Linked DNA regions of Homo sapiens: all the other regions are linked to region 3. The links are contacts of gene promoters, found by promoter capture Hi-C in blood cells and fetal thymus (Javierre and others, 2016). All regions are on one chromosome and are shown on one strand. Each heading gives the region's core, a stretch centred on a gene start or on the middle of the fragment in contact. The rest is flanking DNA. Distances are from core to core; before and after follow the strand shown. Region 1 holds the start of KTI12 (KTI12 chromatin associated homolog). Region 2 overlaps ZFYVE9 (zinc finger FYVE-type containing 9). Region 3 holds the start of ZYG11B (zyg-11 family member B, cell cycle regulator).

Region 1 (3,733 bases), core at 463-2,962, 690 kb after region 3:
TTGGCCAGACTGGTCTCGAGCTCCTGACCTCAGGTGATCTACCCTCTGCCTCCCAAAGTGCTGGGATTACAGGCGCGAGCCACCATGCCGGGCCTGTGTTTACATTTATTTAACCCTCACAACAACCTACAGATTGGTAAACCTGTGAAATAGCAGTTGTTATTTTATAGAAGGGGAAATTGAAGTACAGAAAAGTTACATAATTTGCCAGTAGTTACAACACTAGTAAGTGGAGGAGCCAAGACTTGAATGTTTTTTACTATACTGTACAAGAGAGATACAAAGACCCCAGTATATGTGCATCTACAATATACACACATGCACAGGCACACTCACATTTCTGCACCTACCATCCTATAGTGCTTGCTGTTTATACAAGAGATCCAACAGTTTCATGGCTCTGGGTCTCAAACCTACAATAATAGAGTTGCCAGATTGAGCAAATAAAAATAACGGATGGCCAGGCACAGTGGCTCATGCCTTTAACCCCAGCACTTTGGGAAGCCAAGGCCAGTGGATCACCTGGGGTCAGGAGTTTGAGACCAGCCTGGCCAACATAGTGAAACCCCGTCTCTACTAAAAATACAAAAATTAGCCAGATATGGTGGCGCACACCCATAGTCCCAGCTACTTGGGAGGCTGAGACAGGAGAATCGCTTGAACTCAGGAGGTGGAGGTTGCAGGGAGCTGAGATCATACCACTGTGGTCCAGGCTGGGTGACAGAGCGAGGCTCCATCTCAAAAAATAATAATAATAAAATAAAATAAAGGATGCAGGCCAGGCACCTTGGCTCACACACCTGTATTCCCAGTACTTTGGGAGGCAGAGGTGGCACAATTACTTGAGCCCAGGAGTTTGAGACCAGCCTTAGCAACATACAACCTCATCTCTAAAAAAGAAAAAATAAATAATAATAATAAATTAAAGATGCCCAGTTAAATTTGAAGTTTAGATAAGCACCAAATAATTTTAAATATGTCTATGCAATATTTGGGACACACTTAAGCTTAAAAATGTTTTTGGTGTTTATCTGAAATTCAAATGTAACTGGGCATCCTGTATTTTATCTGGCAACCCTACTAAGGAGAAAAATTCCTATTTGTCTTTCAAGTTCTAAGTCAAATGACTATTTCTACATAAAGTCTTCAGTGATTTCTCTGGGTAGTTTGTTTTTCCCTTCTGTTCTTTTATAACCTCACCTGCATCTATCCATTATAGTATTTATTACTCTGATTGTAGGCGCCTGATCCTTCCCATTCAGACCTTTTATCTTTTGTGGGGAAAGCGTTTTATGTTCATCTCTGAATTCCCAACCTTGGAGATGTTGAATGATTGAAATGGTAATTGAATAAACATTTACTGAGAGCCAGTAGGTTTAAGAGGAGGAATGAAGGAGAACCAGCATTTATTAATTGCCTTCTATATGCTAAATATAGTGCTGATTGCTTACAATATTTAATGCCCCTTAGGCCTTATTAATAAAATGGACGGGCAGTCTTTCGCTGCAGGAAGATCACATTCTCCTGAGGCCTATAACATTTGGCATAAATAACTGATGCCATTATAGTCTCTGTATCTCCTTTCTGAGAAAGCTGAACCTGGGCCTAGCTGGCGTAGAACTCCTGTTTCCATAGAAACAAGAGGGTCTGTAAAAGTCAAGGGAGACAGGAAGAGCAGTTTGCACTTCCGGCTTACGTCGGAGACGCGTACAACCCGGAAGTTGGCGCAGCGCGGTTGCCAATGGTCGCTCCCTGAGAGGATGCCGCTCGTGGTGTTTTGCGGGCTGCCGTACAGCGGCAAGAGCCGGCGTGCTGAAGAGTTGCGCGTGGCGCTGGCTGCCGAGGGCCGCGCGGTGTACGTGGTGGACGACGCAGCTGTCCTGGGCGCAGAGGACCCAGCGGTGTACGGCGATTCTGCCCGTGAGAAGGCATTGCGTGGAGCTCTGCGAGCCTCCGTGGAACGGCGCCTGAGTCGCCACGACGTGGTCATCCTGGACTCGCTTAACTACATCAAAGGTTTCCGTTACGAGCTCTACTGCCTGGCACGGGCGGCGCGCACCCCGCTCTGCCTGGTCTACTGCGTACGGCCCGGCGGCCCGATCGCGGGACCTCAGGTGGCGGGCGCGAACGAGAACCCTGGCCGGAACGTCAGTGTGAGTTGGCGGCCACGCGCTGAGGAGGACGGGAGAGCCCAGGCGGCGGGCAGCAGCGTCCTCAGGGAACTGCATACTGCGGACTCTGTAGTAAATGGAAGTGCCCAGGCCGACGTACCCAAGGAACTGGAGCGAGAAGAATCCGGGGCTGCGGAGTCTCCAGCTCTTGTGACTCCGGATTCAGAGAAATCTGCAAAGCATGGGTCCGGTGCCTTTTACTCTCCCGAACTCCTGGAGGCCCTAACGCTGCGCTTTGAGGCTCCCGATTCTCGGAATCGCTGGGACCGGCCTTTATTCACTTTGGTGGGCCTAGAGGAGCCGTTGCCCCTGGCGGGGATCCGCTCTGCCCTGTTTGAGAACCGGGCCCCACCACCCCATCAGTCTACGCAGTCCCAGCCCCTCGCCTCCGGCAGCTTTCTGCACCAGTTGGACCAGGTCACGAGTCAAGTACTGGCCGGATTGATGGAAGCGCAGAAGAGCGCTGTCCCCGGGGACTTGCTCACGCTTCCTGGTACCACAGAGCACTTGCGGTTTACCCGGCCCTTGACCATGGCAGAACTGAGTCGCCTTCGTCGCCAGTTTATTTCGTACACTAAAATGCATCCCAACAATGAGAACTTGCCGCAACTGGCCAACATGTTTCTTCAGTATTTGAGCCAGAGCCTGCACTGACCAGAGGAGGTAGGGGGGAAGCCATGGCTTCTGATCTCCACTCCACTTTATTTCTCTGGGAAAAATAGGCTGCAGGTCTCCAGAGCATATCGATGCAGTACTGTACTAGAGCTGTTGTGACTGATTCACTCAAACTTTCCTGCATACCCCTGTGCCAGGCCTTGGGTTTACAGCATAAGTTCAGACTAAAGAGAATGGAGAACTATTGTGGTGCAACCTGGCAAATCCCTCAGAGGACAGAGCTAAGGTGGACAGGGATTACCTAGATTGGATCCTACTTGGGCTATCACAGAGCATTGACCATTGGCTTCCCTCATCTGAGGCGTGGGAGAGCAGACTGGATAGATGAGAATTGTTTTAAAACAATTGTGAACAGAAACTGAAGATGGTACAGTTCTACATCTGCACCTGCCCTTTTTTCATACCACAAAAGTATTTTTTGAGTACTGTACTGACTTTTTGCTAGTTTCTATTCTGGGACCGAGTTCACAGATAAATCCATTGGTTTGTATCCTTGAGAAACTTTGTTTTTGTGGAAGTAAGAAAGTTATCTACTAGATTATTTCCTCTAATAAAATCTTTTAAAATAGTCTACTGGAATCTCTTTCACTTAATGTTCCCTGTGTAACTTCATGTAACATTTTAGGTATACTTGTCATTGTTCTGCCTTTAAGTGAAGTAGTATTTTGATAGTTCTGAGAGAGTAGATGTTTTGAGCTACTCTACAGTAATTATATTATGACAATTTCCGTAACTGTTTTGCTTCATTCTGCATTTCAAGGCAAATATCATTGTAAGCTTGTCTTTCATTCTTCATTGATTTCATTGAACAAATGGTAGGTACCTACTTTAACAGTGGCTGTGATTTTCAAAGACCAATTAGATACAGTGTTTTTGCTCTTGAGATA
Region 2 (3,658 bases), core at 14-2,513, 580 kb after region 3:
TTAGTAGCTCCAGACCAGCCTAGCCAACATAATGAAACCTCGCCTCTATTGAAAAAAAAAAAGTTATGAACCGCAGATAGAGCCTTACATTACCACTTCACACTCATTAGGATGGTTATAATCAAAAAAACAGATAACAAGTGTTGGTGAGGACGTGAAGAAATTGGAACCTTCATACAACGCAGGTGGGATTGTAAAAAGGTGCAGCTACTTTGTAAAAACAATCTGATAGTTTCTCGAAAGGTTAAACATACAGCTACCATTTGGCCCAGCAATTCCATCCCTATAAATACCCAAGAGAAATGAAAGCATATTTCCACACAATAATTTGCACATGAATGTTCACAACAACATTATTTATAGTAGCCAAAAAGTGGAAACAGCCCTAACTGATGAATAAAATGTGGTATTTCCATACAATGGAATATTATTCAGCAATAAAAAGAAATGAAGTACTGACACTTGCTACTGAACCCTAAAACTATTATGCTAAGTAAGAGAAACCAGTCATATATCGTATGATTCCACTTACATGAAATGTCTCGATAGGCAAATCCATAGAGGCAGAAAGTACATTAGCGGTTGCCTAGGGCTGGGAGGATTAGGGAGATCCTGGGAGTGACTGTTAATGGGTACAAGTTTCTCTTTGGAGTGATTAAAATGTTCTAAAATTAGACAGCAGTGATGTTTGCACAACTCTGTGAATATATAATACTGTTCTAACTTTTCCAGTTCCGTAAATGGGCTATTTACCATAATTTAAAAGAAAAATATAAGTATTAATTAATTTGTAAAATAGAAAATACTTTATGCGTTGAGTATCCCTTATCTAAAATACTTGGAACCAGAAGCATTTGGGACAGATTAGAATTCTGACGCAAGTCTAAACACAAAATTCATTTGTTTCATGTATACTTATACGCATAGCCTAAAGGTAACTTTATACACTATTTTTAATAATTTTGTACATGAAACAAAGTTTTGACCATTTTGATTGTGACCCATCACATGAGATCAGGCGTGGAATTTTTCCACTTGTGAGATCATGTCAGTGCTCAAAAAGTTTTGGACCTTTGAGCATTTCGAATTTCAGACTTTTGGATTAGGGATGCTCAACCTGTAAAAACAGCACTTTTCAAATTATTTTATTAAATAAATTTTACCATTATAAAATATAAGGTATTCTACTACATAACTAAATGCTAATTCTACTGACACCTTGGTTCCTCCTTAATTTAGCAATCTCTAATACTTCAAAATTAGATTATGCTGATTTTACTTATTAATAGTAAACTACATAAATAATTAACAATCTTTCAACCTCTTTTTTTCAAAACTCAGAGAAATATATTTTCCAATTCCAGAGTCCGGATTTACCAGGACTCATGGGACTGAACTATAGCTCTGATTTACCCATTATATCATTTAATACTTACAATAATCCTGTAAGGTGACTATTATCAGTTGCATTTTATAGAAAAGAAAATTGAGACTTAAAGAGGGTAACAAACTTGTCCAAGGTTATAAGAAAAGACTGGCAGGCTATAAAATCTAGTTCTAGCCTACTGTAGTTTATAAGGAAAAATCTATGTTCTGAAAACAGTTCTTAAGTAAATTTAATAAATTGAGAGTTTTTTGAAAACTAAATATATGAACTATTTCTATTCAGTGCCTGCAACTACATCTTTTCCAATGATTATTATATACAGTTGTCTCTCTGTATCTGTGGAGGACTGGTTCCAGGAACCCACAGGATACCACAATCTGTGGATGCTCAAATCCCTTATATAAAATGGCACAGTATTTGCATATAACCTATGAACATCCTCCTGTATACTTTAAATAATCTCTAGACTACTTACAATGCCAAATACAATTGTAAGTGCTATGCAAATCAACTGTTATACTGTATTGGGTTTTTATTTGTATTATTTTTATTATTGTATGATTACTTTTGTGTGTGTGTGTGTGTGTGTGTGTGTGTGGATATTTTTGAGCCTTGGCTGGGAGGACCCACAGATACAGAGATCTGACTGTACTAAGAATGTTGCTCTATATAATGCAGGTCAAGTATACACAAGTAAAATTAAAGATCAATGTAAAACTCTGAAAATAAATAATTTGCAACAAGTGTACCCTATATAAAGGGAATACTAATTTATTGGCTAAAAATGAAATGGAAAACATACTAAAATCGAAATTGTTTTCCATAAAAAATTCCAAATCCCAAAAGTAGACTTAGTCTAAAAAAAATAAAGCAACCAAGTTTTAAGTCATGCAGAAATCCCAATGCCTGATTTTTGTTTTTCCCAAAAGGAAGAAAGAAATGTACATTTATTGAGCACCTCCTACATGACAAACACTGAGCTAATTGCTTTCGGTTACTTTTATCTCATGGAACCTGTTCTACTTTGCTAGGAGGGGTAGTGTTACCCCAATAGTACATAAGAAACTCAGAATCTAAATGTCACATCGCTTTAAGAGGTGTAGTAAGGATTCCTGCTCACATCTGACTCCATACTCTGTACCACATTATGCAATTAACAACCATAAAACACACATATATACGCCATATCTTTAGGAACATAAGAACTTAAGCTAAAATCCAGGCAATTATCTTTTAAACAAGCTTTGTGCCTTGCAACCAGTCTGTGGCTAGCACGTTTACAAGGTGCCACATAAAAGTTTACTGAATGGAATGAACAGTGGTAGCTTAGCAACAGAGGAAGGAATTATCATCTCTACTCACTCTACCTTTCTAAAAGAGTTAATAGGAAACTATCACCAGGCAATATAAGCAATTATTTCCTTAAAGAAAACACTGAATCAGGAATTGGAAGAGAAAGGAATAATCATACATAAAAAGTATTATCAATGTCCTTAAACGGCAAGATGAGACACAGAAGCCTTAAACAGAGATTTAGCACGTTCCACTCAATTTCAACACTTGTCTGACCTACCTTGTAACAGTTAATTAAAGGTATCCTGCTTCCACAGGACAAGTTTAGTAGAGCCCTTGGTCATTTTTGTGTTTCCTGGAATACCTATAACAGGACCTGGCACTTAAAAGCCAAAATTGTATAAAAATCTTTTACAGATTATAATACCTTTTCAGATTTATTTATCCTAAAAGCCTCGCAAGGTAAGCATAATAACTGAAGTATATGCATTTTACAGACAATGACATTGGTGTCCATTAAGTGCCAAAGTAAATGACAAGGTATTCTTTTAGCACACCACAGCTATCACAGGAGGCTCTCAATAAATGGTTGCTGATTGGATCAGCTGTCCCTCAAAATATCACTTTTCTTTCTAAGATTATTTACTACGAAAAATGACATCCTTTGAGCTGGAGCTGCAAGGAAGTAAAAAAAAAAAAAAAAGAAAGAAATGACTATTGCCACTAAAGACTTATAGTTTTGCTAGAAAATAGACACCTTCCTTCGGCTCAGCAAGGTTAGTTAATTTTAAACTTACTGTATCAGTGATTCTCAAACTTTAGTAGGTCTAAGAATCAGGGAGACTGATAAAAATAAAGTTCTTTGGGCCATCGTCATCCCTAGAATTTCAATTCAAGGGACCAAGAATCTGCATATTACATATAATACTTATATATATAACAAGCACTCTCAACTGATTCTAATGTTGGTGGTCTTGA
Region 3 (3,472 bases), core at 420-2,919:
GGTTGCTACCTAGAACTTACATTCCACAGGGAGAAACAGGTTAGCATACAACAACAGTGTGTGAAAGTGAAGGAGACAAACACAGGAAAATGACAGACTAAAAATGCAGGAGTGAGTTAGGGAAAATTCATAGATTAAATAATTTTATAGTATATTACTTTTCTAAAAAACTGCTGGAGGGAAAAAAAGAAACTGACTAACCTCCTAGGGGAACATAATTATCAGGACTTAGTTTTGCCTTATTCCTCCCAGAGACCAAAATTTAGCTTGTTGCATATGATGGAGCAATGTTTTCAATAAATGTACAGCAAACCACTTATAACCCAACTCAATGAAAAAACCAACTGAAGCCTCAACCTATTTTCAGACAGAAAGAAAATTTGCAAATATAAGGTTCTCCCAACTAAAGGCAGACAGGGCAAAACAAATGAACTCTTTAGAAGGTTTAAAGAGACTGTCACAACCTGCCAACCTGATTGTCAGTCCTCAAATGCCCTTGGTCTCTGCCTCCAAATGAAAACAAATCATTTGTTTTTAGTAATAATAGCCAAGCTTGTAAATAAGTATTTTTAAACTTCTCCAACTGCACCTCCACATTAAAAGATGCTCAAAATAAAAAAAATTCAAAACATTTTTTAGCTATTTCTGTCAAAAGACTAGATCTCTCCTGAGGTCACAGTATGCATGCTGGCCCTCACTTCACTGCTCTGTAACACACCACCACTTCGATTTTGCAATGACACTAGGTGAATAGGCTTCCAGGATCTCTTCAATGCCTCCAAAAACGAAAAGGAAGAAGCAAACCTATAAATCCCTATCTGCCCGCCCTACAGCTCCCGGGAAGCAACAGTCCTCAAATTGTTCCTGCTTAGACCCCTGAAGCCCGTAGAAGGAAATGGGGACAGCTGCGACGGCGAACCGAGCGAGGACATCCGATAAGGGAAGAGGAAACGTGGATGGAAGAGGACGAAGGGGAGAAGGAACACGGAGAGAAGGGGGCAGTGGAGATAAAATGGTGAAGAGGGGTGAGAAGAGCAAGGAAGAGCAGCGAAAACTAGGGAGGAAAGGGGGGAAAGTAAAAATCACATAAGAGGAAAAAAGGCAAAATGATAGAGGAGAAAGAAAGGAAGGGTTAGGGTTAAAGGACAAGGAGTGGGCGACAAAGGGAATGCGAAAAAGGCTGTCACTGGGGGTGATAAAAAGGATGTCATCGGGGAGAAGGGAGATTCAGGGGGTGTCACCTAAAGGGGTTCACCGAAGCAGGTGAATGGGGAAGGAGGAGCTGAACACCGAGGGGGCGGTAACGAGGGAGAGAGGTAAAGGCAGGGAGCCCGAGGGGACACCAGAGACAGGGAGGGGCAAGACCGCAGGGGCCAGCGCGACGGGCGGGGGCTAGGGTGGCGGGCGGCTGCGGCTAGGGCAGGCCTTGCTCCCTCACCATGGCTGCGCCGGCCTGGTCCTCGGGCATGCAGCCTCCGTCCTGGGTGCGGCGGCGGGCCGGACCGGAGCCCGCCCCCAGGCTGAGCCGGCGCGGAGGCTCCAGGAGGCTCCGGCGAGCGGCGGCTCCGGGCTTGGCCCAGGCCTCGGCCTCTTTCCCTCAAGCTAGGAGCGTAGCAGTAGCAGCCGCAGCCGCAGCCGCAGCCGCAGCCCGAACCAGAGCGCAGACTCCGCCCCCGCGAGGACCCGCCCGGGCGCGCGAGCCCGCGCCTGGACCCGCCTCCGCTCTCAATGCGCAGACTCAGACGAGGGGGTCCCGCCCCCCCCAGCCCGACCTCCAGCTTCTCCCCCTCCCAGGCCCTTAAAGGAGCCACACACCCCCAAATCCTAGCATCCCTTCAAAATATGAAAAGCTTTAAATATTACATCATGACGAGAGATTAGAGCATCGCTCACTTCGGTCACCTATAGACTCCTCTGTCATTCACCATCATTCTCTAAGATTTGGGCTTCTGGTTCACTGTCATTCATTACTACTATTGTCATAACTCTTGGTTATTTCAAAATTCGCTTAATTCTTCCAATCCTCTGGCCTCTCAGATTCTTCTCTAGGGATCATTCTTGGCTCAGCCTCTCACTCTCATGCTCATACGAATAATTGTAACTTCTCTACAATCTCAATTTTAATCCTCTAACTCCCATTGCAACCTTCTTCCTTTCTTTCTTTCTTTCTTTCTTTCTTTTTTTTTTTTTTTTTTGAGATGGAGTTTCGCTCTTGTTGCCCAGGCTGGAGTGCAGTGGTGCGATCTTGGCTCACTGCAACCTCCACCTCCCGGGTTCAAGTGATTCTCCTGCCTTAGCCTCCCGAGTAGCTGGGATTACAAACACCCGGCACCACACCCGGCTAATTTTTGTATTTTTAGTAGAGAAGTGGCTTCACCATGTTGGCCAGGCTGGTCTCGAACTCCTGACCTCAGGTGATCCGCTTGCCTTGGCCTTCCAAAGTGCTGGGATTACAGGCGTGAGCCGCTGCGCCCGGCCACAACCTTCTTCCTTTCTAGCTCACTCTGTCTGATAATACTCCAACTCCAAAAACTTCAACTCCAAGACCCCAAATCCATTGATCCAACTACCTTTTCGCTATTCCTCCCCACGCTGGCCTTATGTACTCACTTTCTTCCTGAAACAGCTTAGATTCTATCGTCCGTCATGAAATGGAATCTAATAGAATCTAAGCTGTTTGGGGAAGAAAGTGAGTACATGAGGTACATGAAGTCGATTTCTTCAGTATTACCTTCATTTCTCTAGTCGTTCTCTGCTTTCTTTGTACTGACAGAACTCCAGCAATGGAGTGGGTGGAGAAAAAGCCAAAAGTGGTTGACTGACTCCCCGTAAATTTGAGATCATTATTCTCAAGAGGCCATAATGAGTGGCTACCCTACCACATTTCTCCAGTTTCACACACTCTCCCACCTTGCTACATAACTATTTCAAGTCTCCTGTCTCTTCAAACCTCCGACACTTCCTCCCTCATCTCATTTAGCTGATGATTTTGCTTCTAATTCACAAGAAAATCAAACAAACCAAAAAGAACATCTACAAGTTCCCAGCACCCACCATGACTTCCAACGAACCTGTAACTCTGCTTTGATGCTCTCTCTGCCTTCCTTTCCTTACTACAAGTTAATTATTTGTCTTTTAGCTAACATCAAATCCTCCTCAGTTCTCAAGCATCTGTGCTAAAAGACCCAGATTTTATCCCCAATCACAAAACTAAATTTCTGTAAAATACAATCAAAATTAATTACTAGAAAAAATTAAAATTTAAAAACAAGCATCCAAAATGCAAGCCCAGATTTTTTAAACCTGCTTAACCATTTTAAAGTGTACAGTTCAATGGTATTAAATACATTCACATTGTTGTGCAACCATCCCCATCAAGAAGCTCCAGAACTTTTTATTTTTTCTTTTATTTATTTATTTATTTATTTATTGAGACAAGTTCTTACCCTGTCACCCATCAGGAGTACAGTGG

The links. Contacts are between HindIII fragments. The CHiCAGO score rates a contact against its expected background, and 5 or more counts as called.
Region 1: a contact is called between the fragment with the promoter of KTI12 here and the fragment with the promoter of ZYG11B in region 3, in 5 of 17 cell types (fetal thymus, total CD8 T cells, activated CD4 T cells and 2 more). The highest score is 8.1, in fetal thymus.
Region 2: a fragment that was not itself captured here is called in contact with the fragment with the promoter of ZYG11B in region 3 in 2 of 17 cell types (total CD8 T cells and total CD4 T cells); the score reaches 6.4 in total CD8 T cells.

The regions. Positions count from the first base shown.
Region 1 is chr1:52,031,789-52,035,521 of GRCh38, reverse strand. It overlaps KTI12 (KTI12 chromatin associated homolog), which reads left to right and starts at 1,712. Exons shown (of 1, transcript NM_138417.3): 1 at 1,712-3,419. The coding sequence starts at 1,761. The coding sequence ends at 2,825. All of the region lies in intron 2 of TXNDC12 (thioredoxin domain containing 12), which reads left to right. RefSeq lists an enhancer at 1,706-2,005. The HindIII fragment of the contact is 2,616 bases long and covers 1,010-3,625 here.
Region 2 is chr1:52,144,355-52,148,012 of GRCh38, reverse strand. The region is part of intron 1 of ZFYVE9 (zinc finger FYVE-type containing 9); the gene reads right to left. The region is part of intron 4 of LOC107984956 (collagen alpha-2(I) chain-like); the gene reads right to left. Among named protein-coding and RNA genes, the nearest start is that of ZFYVE9, 4.1 kb to the right of the region's middle. RefSeq lists an enhancer at 1-152. The HindIII fragment of the contact is 2,737 bases long and covers 1-2,631 here.
Region 3 is chr1:52,724,650-52,728,121 of GRCh38, reverse strand. It overlaps ZYG11B (zyg-11 family member B, cell cycle regulator), which reads right to left and starts at 1,669. Exons shown (of 14, transcript NM_024646.3): 1 at 1,439-1,669. The coding sequence starts at 1,468. RefSeq lists a silencer at 1,279-1,858. The HindIII fragment of the contact is 1,298 bases long and covers 555-1,852 here.